Regions from separate parts of the Homo sapiens genome. Here regions 2 and 3 are each linked to region 1. The links are contacts of gene promoters, found by promoter capture Hi-C in blood cells and fetal thymus (Javierre and others, 2016). All regions are on one chromosome and are shown on one strand. The core of a region is centred on a gene start or on the middle of the fragment in contact, and the rest is flanking DNA. Distances in the headings are between cores, read along the strand shown.

Region 1 (4,231 bases), core at 713-3,212:
TAAATATTAAACAAAGTCAATCCCTTCTCCAAAATTTCCTAAGGTACTCTACCATCCCTATTTTCCATAATCCTGTCAGCAACCATTCTCCTACTAAGCTTTCCACTCCAATCGATCTAATCTACCCTTAGAATCCTGAACCTTGCTTACTTCTTACTCTCCTCATTCTCCTTAATAGGAGAATCATTCCCTTCCCTTCTCCGATCAAATTCTTCATTACACTTTCCTGGGTCACATCAACCCAACGTCATAGCTTCTTGATTGAGCATTATATTCTTAGAACTTAGATAGAGATACCACCTAGACTCTTAAAATCCTTTTTGGAAATAGGCAGGGTAGGAATAAATCAATGAATATACATACATATGTGCAAACATAAATAAAATGAATATAGTATATTGCATTACTTTAACATTTAAACACATCTCATTTCTCTTCTGAGATCAAGTACACTGAGGGAACATATCTCATCCTTTTTTCATCCATGTTCAGCACCTTGTCTACACATACAGAAGACATTTTGTGCCTTTCATAAATACTTCATGAGTGTCTATATTGATTAGGCAGTATTTAAGATAAAAGTGGGAATGTGATGATAAATGACATTTGTTCTCTACGCTCAAGGAGCTCACACTGCATCAGGAAAAGATATATAAACAATCTACTATAACACAATGTGGTAAGTGCCAAGTTAAATTTGAACAAATAGCTAAGGGGCACAGTTTGGTGAAAGACTATCAGAAACCATGGAATTTCTAGTTAGACTTTCTCAGATTATCAGAGTTCATCTCTTTCTCCTTTATTCTATTACTCCATTTTGCCTGAATCCTCATTACAAAATTTATCATAAACCTTAAGCAACCAATTAATGTTACTTGAAGTATGCCAACTATCATCCATACTAAGTTGCAGTGTCTGGAAGATGTAGATAGTGCTTATGTCTTGGGCATAACAAGCAATCAAGAGTCTGAAGTAAACTGATATACAGATATATATCTATATAACCTGTTCCATGTAGATTATGCTCTATATATTATAGTAGGTGAGTAATAAATATTTGATTATGCCAACTAAAGCTGCAGTCAAGTTTTGGCAAATACTTGTTCTATAATCCTAATGCAAGAGCATAAACTATTTATGGCAGAATAGAAACAGCATCCTCGGACTGTTCATCTTTAAGCACCCAGGATTAGAGAAGGCTAATAAAAAGGGTGGTGGGGAACCCCACCATATTTGGATCAAACTGACACTCACATATGCTGGGATTTCCGAACTACCTGGTGAGGCAGGTTCCACCCATGCCCCAACTGGTACTATAGCCTCGTTCCTCTCAGCCAGCACTGCCAACACGTCCTTGCTCTTCAGGGGGTTTAAAGCCAGGGGCAACCTTGAGGTATTTCGAGGTTTCTTTCGGGCCATACTTCCCAGCATCTGTGACTCCTGATTAGGAGAAAGAAAAAGCTTAAAATCTTCAAATGACTGCATTAAAAGTTCAACCTCCTAACACATGAGCCACAGGCCCGTGAAAAGGAGAGAAGCCCTGGAGGCAGAAGCCTGGCATGAAGTGGAAACACACGGATTCTAGAGAAAAAGGAAGAAAAGAAGGGAAGAGAAATGGGAAGAAATAAAGAGGCAAAGAAAGGTTTTTAAGTTGCCTTCTAGAAGAAATGGCGATGAGAGGGAAGAGAAAGGATGGGAATGAGAGAACGAAGACTGTCCTCAGCTGTGGGCGCAGCGAGGCGGGAAGGGAGGAATGACAGCTGCAACCCGGAGAAAGAGGGAGGGGCGGGGACCTGTGTCTGCAGCCGAGAGTCCCAATAATCGGTATAGGTTATGGGAAGACGCGCTGAACGGCTGGGAGCCTCGGGCCAGATAAAAGCCTGCTTCTGAGGCCCCGAGGCCTGCTCCGGCTGAGATGGCACTGGCCAGGAATCGGCCCGCAGCTCGCCACAGACTCAGTCTACTCGGAGTACTAAGGTAACCGCCTCAAGTAGACCGCCACTTTGCGGTGGGCTGCTCCGTCCCGCCCATCCGTAGCCTTATGCCCGCCCTTTCCGGAGCCCGCGTCCCCTCCCGGAGCTGGGAAGGCGTGAGAGGTGGAGTTTCGAGCGCCCGAGGTATCGTCATTTCCTCTTCCTGTCCGGCTGAGGGGGCGGGGACGTGTGGGTAAGCGGAGTCGCTGGGTAATGCGCCATGTGAGGCGCGGTGGGACTGTCGTTCCTGGACCAACGCCGAGACTTCCTAAATCCCTCCGGAAAGGGATGCGTTGGGCCTGTGATCTGGCGACTAGGAGGGTCAGGAGTCCCAGTAGAGGGAATCACGGGAAAAGAATGAAAGAGGGAGGCGAGCCTGGCACGGCTTCCTGGAGAAACAAACTAAGCTAACAAATTTTTCGGATCCTTTGTGCAGCTAATTTTACAGTACTGTTTCATACATCTTATTATATTTGGACATCACGGCCTGTTGAGTGGTCTCCCTCTCTGCTGCAAGCTCTGCTGTAATCCAGAGACACTCAATTATCTCTGTAGGATAATTTATTCATTCGATTAACATACATTACTACTAACTTTTTATAAACCAGTACTGTTCCAAGCACCGGAGATACATAGCTATGAACGAAACAAATATCCCTGCTCAGGGAATTCACAATAGAGTGAGGGGAAATAAGCGAATAAACAATGAGTAAGTAAATGTGTGTGATGTGGAGTAAAAGCAAAGAAAGCGGATAGGGAGTGTGGTGGGCAGGGTGGGGATTGGAGGGATGAAATATTAGAACGTCCAGAGAAGCTGCACTGAGATACTTTTCAGCAAAGACTTAAATGAGTTAATGGAAGAAGCCACTGTGCTCTTCAACGGAGGCTTTATAAACATGTTCCAGATATAACAGCAAGTATAAACGCCCCAAGGTGGAAGCATTGCCTGGTTGAGAAAAAGTCAGGAGGATAGTGTGACTGGAGCAGAGGGAGAGTGGAAGAATGCTGAGACAGTAGGTCAAGCAGGCAATCCGATCAAACATCGTAAGCCACCATAGGTGTTGAGATGGGGAGCCACTGGAGCAAGGTTTGGAGCAAAGGAACACCATAATGTGACAAAATTAAAAAAATAATAATTCCGAATGCTGTAGTGAGAATAGACTGTAAAGAAGACCAATTAGGTGGCTATTGCAATAATTCAGTTAAGGGATTGTGATGTCTTGGATCAAGGAGGTAGTGGTGGAGATGATGATAAGTGGTTGGATTCTGTATCTATTTGGGAGGCAAAACTTTCAGGATCTGTTGAAGGTTTGGATATGGATTGTGTGAGGGAGAGATGTCAAGGAAAACTAGGGGTTTCATCCTGAGCAGCTGTCAGGATGAAATTACTATTTACTGAGATAGTGAAGATGGTGGAAGGAGTAGATTTGGAAAGGGGAAGATCAGGAGTTCAGTTTGGGGCAGATAAAGTTTTATCTAATCAACATCCGAGAAGATAGTATGAGAAAAAGTGTCTGGAGCTCAGAGAAGGGTTCTGGGCTACAAATATAAATCTAAGAGTCGTTAGCCTGTAGATTTAAAGCCATGAGACTGGATGGAGTCATCAAGGGGTTGAATATAGACAGATAAAAGAATAAATCCTAAAACAGCCCCAGGGTATGTCAGTATTACAGAGGCTGAGAAAAAGAGGAGGAGAATGCTAAGAGATTGAGAAGGATTAATCAGTAAACCAAGGAAGAAAACTATGAGGGTGTGATACCTTGAAAGCCAGGTGAAAAAGAAATGTTCCATTGAGGGCAGACAATCTGTGTTAAATCCTACTGACAGATCAAATAAGGTAAGGACTGAAAATTGACTATTGGATTTGACCATGTGGAAGTGATTGATAACTTTTAAAAGAGCAGTGTCTTTAGAGTAGTTGGAGAGCAAAAGCCTGATGGGCTAGGCAAGAAAGAGTAGGAGAAGGAATTGGAGACAGCAATTTTAGACAATTCTTTCCATGAATTTTGTTGTGAAGGGACACAGCGAAAGAGGTGGCTGAACGTAGAGGTAGGATCATTGGAGAGTTCTTTAAGATCATAGCATATATTTGTTATTGATGGAAATTAACCAATAGACAGGAGAAAACTAATGATGCGGGAGAGATATGGGAGAATTTAGGGATCTACAGTCATGTGTCACTTAAAGATGGGGATACATTTTGATAAATGTTAGGTGATTTTGTCTTTGTGCAAACCTCATAGAGGAAATGGAATTTA
Region 2 (4,231 bases), core at 919-3,418, 950 kb before region 1:
GGGTGCCTGTAATCCCAGCTACTTGGGAGGCTGAGGCAGGAGACTCACTTGAACCCGGGGGGGCAAAGGTTGCAGTGAGCCAAGATCATGCCACTGCACTCCAGCCTAGTTGACAGGGTGAGACTCCATGTCAAAAAAAAAAAAAAAGACTGCCTATTTCGGGAACACTCCTTGCTTGATCCAATCTGTTTATATTATCTATATCTTTACAATACATAATATGATATATATAACATAATATAATACATAATAGGCAGAATATTCCCCCAAACTCTGTTATTCCATACTCCATAAAAATGGTGGTTGCTGATGAATAAAGATGCTGATGGAAAAAAACGGTAATATCTAATGCACTTATATGTGTCAATTAGGAATCTGTGATAGGGAAACATAGCCAAAGGGCTAAAAATATCTTTCCCACACATTTTTCAAAATGTGCTCCAACATAACTTATCCTACATAATTTTTATTGATAATATCAAACCCTAAACATAAATTTCACTGAACTTGTCTAAAATGCGTAAGATTTCCTATGCCTTACCTATAGCTGACCTGGCTGATCAGAGTGGAAGCTTACTGAGAGAGCCTTGGTATTCCCCACAGCACTTAATGCATATGGGTACTCAGCTTGTCAAGCAAATAGGGAGAGACGACCAGATACTTTTCATGAGTGGAAACTACACTAGGAGAATGGTAAACCGGGTACCAGTGCCAGTCTTGACTCAGCCACTCTCTGGGGACCTCAAGAAAGACACTTCCCTCTCCAAGCATCAGCCTCCTCCTCTGCTAGAGTGAGGTGGACTACCTGACCTTCTGGTCCTGCAGTTAGATGGCTATAATTATTGCATGCTTAATTTATGCCAGGCACTGTGCTAAAAACGTAAATTACTTCATTAAATCCACATGATGACTTTATTCAATGTTTAATGAGTGGTTTCTACAAGCCAGGCACTGTGCTAGGTATTAGGATTTAAGGGTGAACAGATCAACTATGATACATTCCTTTACAGATGCTATCTTTACAGACAAGGATTAACAGACTCAGATTTATTAACTTGCCTAAGACATTCAGTTAGTAAGTGGGAGGCTAGCATTGAAACCACTCAAGACTATAAAGCCTGTCCTCTCCATCACTGTCCCATGCTGCTACCCAATGCTCTATGATTTTATGAAAACATGTCTTTTCTAAATATTTCATCACCATAGTAACCATATCATTGCACAGGAATATCACCTATTACTAAATTAGCACTGGTAGTGCAAGCATTCCCAGTCTTCTCTCAGCCTTCCCTTACCTGTGGGAACAATTCCAAGGCATTAACTCTGCTTAACATTGCCAACACAAATGCCGCTGTCTTTCCTGTTCCAGACTGGCTCTGTGCTATGAGGTTCTGGGGTCTGTAGAAAAGAGAAGACCACTGGGCATAAACTGAATACAAGAGAGTGGGCATAAACTGAAAATAAGAAACTAAACATAACCAAGTAGAATACCACTACCCTGGAAACTCACGGATGTGCCAGCATCATAGGGAGAGCCATCTCTTGGATTTTAGATGGCCTATTAAATCCCATTGCATAGATTCCTTTTAGTAACTCTTCCTTTCTGTCAAAAAAAAAAATCAAACACTTACAGATTATAGTTGGTCAGTAGCATCAGAAATACATACCTGAAAGGTGCATTTCTAAATTAAGTCACTTTGCAGCTGAGCTTTAAAACTAGTATTTGGAGATAGATCATTCATACCTCAACTTCCAAACATAAACAATCATGCCTGTAGAGCTGGACCACTAAAATAATAAGCTACGCCATAAGCCTAGGCGAAGGACAGTGGTAAAGGCCTTAAGTCAAACCTTCTGTTGAACAAAGCAAAAATGGAAAAACTCATCGCATAAAAAGAATATATCTGCTTGCCAAGAGAGTTATATTTTCTGCCTAAGCAGAAAACTAAGTGACATTTACTGTTTTGTTCCTTTTCACGAACGATATTGACATTTTTAACAGTAATTTTCAGAGAAGACAAATTTTTATTTAGGTGATTCTTATATTAGTTCTTTCTAGGAGTAGAAGACACAATATTACTCCATCCTTCTGAGGCAATATTTTAAAATGCAGCTTTCCTGAGGGTCTTAAGAAAAATGCCAGAATGAGGATAAATCAAGTGGACTACAACACTTCAACTTTTTTTTTTTTGAGACGGAGTCTTGCTCTGTCGCCCAGGCTGGAGTGCAGTGGCGCGACCTCAGCTCACTGCAAGCTCCACCTCCCGGGTTCACGCCATTCTCCTGCCTCAGCCTCCCGAGTAGCTAGGACTACAGGCGCCCGCCACCACACCTGGCTAATTTTTTGTATTTTTAGTAGAGACGGGGTTTCACTGTGTTAGCCAGGATGGTCTCGATCTCCTGACCTCGTGATCCGCCCCCCTTGGCCTCCCAAAGTGCTGGGATTACAGGCGTGAGCCACCGCGCCCGGCCAACACTTCAACTTTTAATGACATGCACATTTGTGTGTGCTTAATTGGTAGAGGACTGGTAGCCCATCTTAAATCATGGGTAGGCTTCTTCTACCATTTAGAAAATGTCTGGGAACTAGGATTTTGGATTTTTACCCTTTACATAAGTAGGTTTCAGTGCTTTTCTCGTTCTGTAAAAATACATTTTTTAGCGTCAAATGATAAATCCCTAGGGAATGCAAACCCATTTGGGAAAGTTATTCAGTTTAATATCATTTGAAACAAAATATAATCAGGAAAGTAAAAGTTTGTGACTTATCTATAGTGGGTGAAGGAGGATGTCTGGGTCATCAGAATCTGGGTTCTGATATGGAGAGGGGCAATCTGGCTGTGCCTAGCTTAGCTATCTATCCCCCTGAGCACTGCAGGATGAAAATATCTTACTATCAAAAATGTTCTCAATTTGCCAGGCAACTTGAGTATCCTAATGTTCTTCTTTAGAATATCCTTTTTTTTTTTTTTTTTGAGACGGAGTCTCACTCTGTCACCCAGGCTTGGAGTGCAATGGTGTCTCGGCTCACTGCAACCTCTGCCTCCTGGGTTCAGGCGATTCTCCTACCTCAGCCTCCCGAATAGCTGGGATTACAGGTGCGCGCCACCATGCCCGGCTACTTTTTGTATTTTTAGTGGAGAGGGGGTTTTCCCATGTCGGCCAGGCTGGTCTCAAGCTCCTGACCCTCGGGCGATCTGCCCTCCTCAGCTCCCAAGTGTTGGGATTATAGGAATGAGCCACTGTGCCTGGCCTGAGCTATATTTTGATTGCATGGAAAATGTACAAATCTCACTTTAATACTGAATATTAAAAATTAACTGGGCGTGGTGGTGCATGCCTGTAGTCCCAGCTACTCGGGAGGCTGAGGCAGGAGAATCGCTTGAACCTGTAAGGTAGAGCAGTGAGCCGAGATCGTATCACTGCACTCCAGCCTGGGGGACAGAGTGAGACTCTGTCTCAAATAACAAAAAAAAATATTGAATATCAGAAAACAAAGAGGAGATCCTGATGGTTTTTACTATAAGCAGATGCGTTTGTTCTGTGGTTTTCAGCATTTTTCCCATATTAAAAGAGTAAAAATACTCACAGCCGCAGCTCTTCAAATGTCTTTACTGAGTAAAGTGGAGAGCTGGGATCCTTCTGTAAAACTTCCACACGGTGACTGGATTCTACTAAGGATTGATGGATTAACTTGTTTAAGAGTGAATTAGCTGCCAAATCCACTAGAAAAGCAAAAATAAAAAAGAGGACATCAAGCTTCCTGAATGACATCAAATAAGTTGCTCTTTCTCTTTCAGTGGTTGTATACCAAGCAATTGCACCTACGCTCATTTTTCCTCTAAAAGAGGGTTCCAGAAAGAATGATATAGCACTGAGGATTCGTTCTTTATGAGGATTCAGTTTCTTACGCTCTGTTACTTCACCATCCTCTAACTTCAAAGTAGCCTAAGTCCATCTCCATGAGACCAAATCCTTGACAGATGGAAGTTCTGAACCCAATCCCTGCATATTCCATTTCAACTTCCTTTAAATAAATACACCTTACTCCTAATTTAGTGTGTCTCCTGATAGTCACTATAAGAAAACAGAAGCAAAGACAGGCCTTTTCCAATTGAGATTATATTATTCACTCACACTATTAAAGTTATAAACGGAAACAGAATGCTAGTAGATACATGCAAATGAATTCATCTCCTACCTACATCTTCTTCATCATCTTCATTGATGT
Region 3 (4,231 bases), core at 691-3,190, 930 kb before region 1:
CTGCCACCACGCCCGGCTAATTTTTCTTCTATTTTTAGTAGAGACTTGGTTTCACCATGTTGGCCAGGCTGGTTTCAAACTCCCAATCTCAAGTGATCCGCCCGCCTCCGCCTCCCAAAGTGCTTGGGATTACAGGTGTGAGCCACCGCGCCCGGCCCAGTTTGGCATTTTGAATCAGAATTTAAACTGTACCACAACTTCTAAGTCATAATCCACTTCCAGGAATTTATTCCAAGGACATAAATTGGACAAGAATGCAAACATGTATACATACAAGTGACCACTACCATACCATTTTATGATTATGAAGAGACTGGAAACAAATGTACATTAGTAGGGGACTGGTTAAATAATATATGATACAATACAGCCATAGCAACAAACGCCACGCATCCATTAAAAATGGTAATGCGTATCGACACTGACAGAGAAATGTGTTCCCAATTTATTACTGACTCAATAATGTATAATCTGCTTAACTGACGTTCTTTTAAATTAACATACTTTATTATATTTGTAACATGCAATTATTTAAAACACATTTTATAAGGAAATCACATAAATATAAGGTATATATTATGAATATATCTGAAGTAAACCTAAATGTGAACAGTGTTTGATGGTTATCTGTGACTGATGAAATTTCGAGTATTTTCTTTCTTCTTTACACGTACTAAATGTTGCTCGGATTGCTAAAAACATGTACATACTATGTTTGCATTCTTGTCCGATTTATGTCCTTGGAATAAACTCCTGGAATTGGATTATGACTTAGAAGTTATGGTACTACTTGAATTCTGATTTATGTTTTTCTTTTCTCTTTTTTTTTTTTTTTTTTGAGACAAGAGTCTTGCTCGGTCGCCCAGGCTGGAGTGCAGTGGCGCGATCTCGGCTCACTGCAACCTCTCCCTCCCGGGTTCAAGAGATTCTCCTGTCTCGGCCTCCCGAGGAGCTGGGACTACAGGCGCCCGCCACCAAGCCCGGCCAATTTTTGTATTTTTAGTAGAGACGGGGTTTCACCGTATTGGTCGGGCTGGTCTCGAACTCCTGACCTCACGTGATCCGCCCACCTCGGCCTCCCAAAGTGCTGGGGTAACAGGCGTGAGCCACCGCGCCCGGCCTGAATTCTGATTTATAATGCCAAACTGCCCTCTAGAAAAACAGATTATCCCCAGCACACAGGCCATAAAGGTGCTTGCTTTCATTTCTTCACTCTCTCAGCAGCATGGGGTACTGAAAAATCTTACCAATCTAAAAAGATATCTTAATGTTTTTCTTTGCCTGCTTAGTGAGATTGTATACTGTTTAGAATAAAAAAGATTTATTTCCATTTCGGGGTGGACAAACACCTTGGACGGTTCCATGCTGCAGTCCACAAAAGGTGCAGCTAGAAGGCGACAAGACACGCTCCGCCTTTCAACGGCAAAGCTCGCAGTCGCCCCGCCTGGCCGTGGGCGTGGCTTGGACCCAGGTCGCTAGCGGCCTTCGGGACTCCCCTCCAGCCCTGGGGCCGTCCCCGGCCTCCGCCTGGTCCCAGGGGCGCGGCCCAGGAGCTCAGAAAGGCCACCGGGGCAAAGACCGCGGCGGCGGCCAGCGCACACCGTGACCTCCAGGGGCTGCGGCCCGCCGCGCACATCGCCTGTAGCTCACGCTGCCCCGGCCGCCTCCCTCAGGAACGCAGACGTTGGGGACGGCTCGCCAGGCAGGACCTGGAATCCACGGAGGGAAGCTGCCACTCTGCACCGTCCCGACGGTGGGAAAAGGAGCGAGGGCTCCCGCCGCAGTGGGCCGGCAGCCACCAGGTCCCCGCGTCCCTCCGCTTCCGGCCTTCGCCCGGCTTACCCGCGTCGCGGAAGTCCGCTCTCTGCACCGCGTCCTGCCAGTCGCCAGCAGAGCACCGCAGATTCTGTTAGCTTTCGCGTAACTTGCGCAGGCGCACTGCCGGCCCACGCGCCGAGCCTGCGGTTAACCGCCGACCGCTGAGGTTTAAATCCGGAGAGCGAACCGGCACCCTTGGCCCGGTCCGCCCTCCCTCTTATTGGTCCTGAGGGTAAACGTCCTCCAAGTCTGTATCCTGATTGGCGCACATTTTGTCTGGGCCTTCTCCGCCGGCGGGAGCATGCCCGGGATTTCCAATGTGGCCTTAAAAATATCCGAGCCCGCCTAGCTGAGGCGCGCAGGCAGCAGCCGTTGCTGCGACGCCTCTGGTGTACTAAATCTGGAGGGGAGGTTGGGCCCTCGAAGAGAAGGAGAAGACCCTCAAACCTTGGCTAACGGCGACATAGCTGGCTTTTTGGAGAGGCCGCCTAACGGTCTGCCACTTCATTGGAATCAGCCTCCGCCCTTCTCAACTGGCTGCTGCGGGGCCAGTGGTGCCGGGAGACGAGGGCGGGCGCTCAGGGACGGTTCGAACAGTCTGGGGTGAGTCCGCCTGTGCGCTCTAGACGTTTCCTTGGGGCCTGAGAGAGCGGCTGTATGAAACCCTGGCGCACTGAGCTCTTCCTTTCCTCTGCATGGTGTGCAGGGCCCTGGCGTGACCCGTGGCTGCGTCTCCACAGCTCCTCCCACGTTACTCTAACTGTGCTCCAGCCACCGACTGCCTTGCTCCGACATGCACTTGTTTTCTTTTGGAATGTGCCTGTCTCCTTCACATGGTGTTACTCTCAACTTTTTTTTTTTTTTTTTTTTGAGACGGAGTTTCCCTCTTGTTGCCCAGTTGCCCAGGCTGGAGAGTAGTGGCGCGATCTCAGCTCTCTGTAACCTCTGCCTCCCAGGTTCAAGCGATTCTCCTGCCTCAGCCTCCCGAGCAGCTGGGATTACGGGCGAGCACCACCATGCCCGGCTAATTTTGTATTTTTAGTAGAGATGGGGTTTCACCATGTTAGTCAGGTGATTCTACCCCCTCGGCCTCCCAAAGCTCTGGGATTACAGTTGTGAGCCTCTGTGCCCAGCCACTAATTTTTTTTTTAAACCCGATGTTTTAACTCTTTTTGCATCTGTACCTGTAAAAAAAAAAAAAAAAAAAAAAAAAAAAATCTAGTGCTTGGGGATTGCTGAGGATGAGATCTGTAAAAGCAAGAGGAGAGGCCCTCAGGGTTCAATATCCTAGTCAATACCAAGCAAACCTATCTCAACTGGTCTTGAGTCCTGAGCATTGCATTTTCCACCTTAAACAAATAGGTGCTAGTTGTCAAGTTCATCTTACACCATTTCTTAAATCCAGGATTCAGTGGGAGGGGAGAAATGTTTAATCCTTTTCCTCCAAACACTTCGTATTATCTCTTACTCTCCCTCTTTGCCTCAGGGCCTTTGTGCTACCTCTAAGGCACTTTGAATTTGTGGGAGGAAGAAAATGGAAAGAACAAAGGAGGGAAGATGACAGAAGTAGGTTGTGGAGATTTGAGTGACTGCCCCTACATCTGCAATATCATAACACTCCTTTAGTGCAGCGGTCCCAACCTTTTTGGCACTAGAGACAGGTTTCATGGAAGACAATTTTTCCATGGCTCAGAGAGGGGGTATGGTTTTGGGATGATTCAAGCGCATTACATTTATTGTGCACTTTATTTCTATTATTATATTGTAACATATAATGAAATAATTATGCAACTCACTGTAATGTAGAATCAGTGGGAGCCCTGAGCTTGTTTTTCTGCAACTAGATGGTCCCATCTGGGGGTGATGGGAGACAGTGACAGATCATCAGGCATTAGATTCTCATAAGGAGCATGCAACCTAGATCCCTGGCTTGCGCAGTTCACAATAGGGTTCACGCTCTTGTGAGACTCTAACACCCCTGTTCATGCGACGGAAGGCAGAGCTCAGGCAGTAATGCCAGATGGGGAGTGGCTGTAGAAACAGATGAAGCTCCTACGGCTTACCCCCTGCCTTGCGGCCTGGTTCCTAGGTGCCTGTCCGTGGCCTGGGGGTTGGGGACCTTTGTTTTAGTGCATATATTCTTTTCTTTCCATAGGAGCAAATTTAATATGCTCAGGTTTTATCTTATGCCAGCATGACTTTTTCTTTGGCTTTGAATCTCCAATCTGTCTTAGAAACCAAAGAGTAGATGGAATCATTTTTCTTCCAGCTTTGAACATCAGCATTCTCCTTATGGATCCCCCAGTTCGTTTCTTTTTCTTTTTTTTTTAATTTTTTTTGAGACAGAGTCTCTCTCTGTAGCCCAGGCTGGGGTGCAGTGGCACGATCTTGGCTCACTGCAACCTCCACCTCC

What was found. The method cuts DNA at HindIII sites, captures the fragments that hold promoters and counts their contacts. A CHiCAGO score of 5 or more calls a contact.
Region 2: a contact is called between a fragment that was not itself captured here and the fragment with the promoter of CCDC15 in region 1, in 1 of 17 cell types (naive CD8 T cells). The highest score is 5.4, in naive CD8 T cells.
Region 3: the fragment with the promoter of HYLS1 here is called in contact with the fragment with the promoter of CCDC15 in region 1 in 8 of 17 cell types (activated CD4 T cells, total B cells, naive CD8 T cells and 5 more); the score reaches 12.9 in activated CD4 T cells.

The regions. Positions count from the first base shown.
Region 1 is chr11:124,951,933-124,956,163 of GRCh38, reverse strand. CCDC15 (coiled-coil domain containing 15) reads right to left here and starts at 1,962. Exons shown (of 16, transcript NM_025004.3): 1 at 1,794-1,962; 2 at 1,255-1,440. The coding sequence starts at 1,431. CCDC15-DT (CCDC15 divergent transcript) reads left to right here and starts at 2,173. Exons shown (of 3, transcript XR_948134.3): 1 at 2,173-2,682. RefSeq lists an enhancer at 1,759-2,302. The HindIII fragment of the contact is 8,789 bases long and covers 1,464-4,231 here.
Region 2 is chr11:125,905,568-125,909,798 of GRCh38, reverse strand. It overlaps DDX25 (DEAD-box helicase 25), which reads right to left. Exons shown (of 12, transcript NM_013264.5): 3 at 4,202-4,231; 4 at 3,590-3,725; 5 at 1,511-1,603; 6 at 1,296-1,398. Among named protein-coding and RNA genes, the nearest start is that of DDX25, 3.2 kb to the right of the region's middle. The HindIII fragment of the contact is 3,187 bases long and covers 575-3,761 here.
Region 3 is chr11:125,885,377-125,889,607 of GRCh38, reverse strand. It overlaps HYLS1 (HYLS1 centriolar and ciliogenesis associated), which reads right to left and starts at 1,940. Exons shown (of 3, transcript NM_001134793.2): 1 at 1,843-1,940. RefSeq lists silencers at 1,363-1,752, 1,853-1,902, 1,993-2,042 and an enhancer at 2,183-2,232. The HindIII fragment of the contact is 13,277 bases long and covers 1-4,231 here.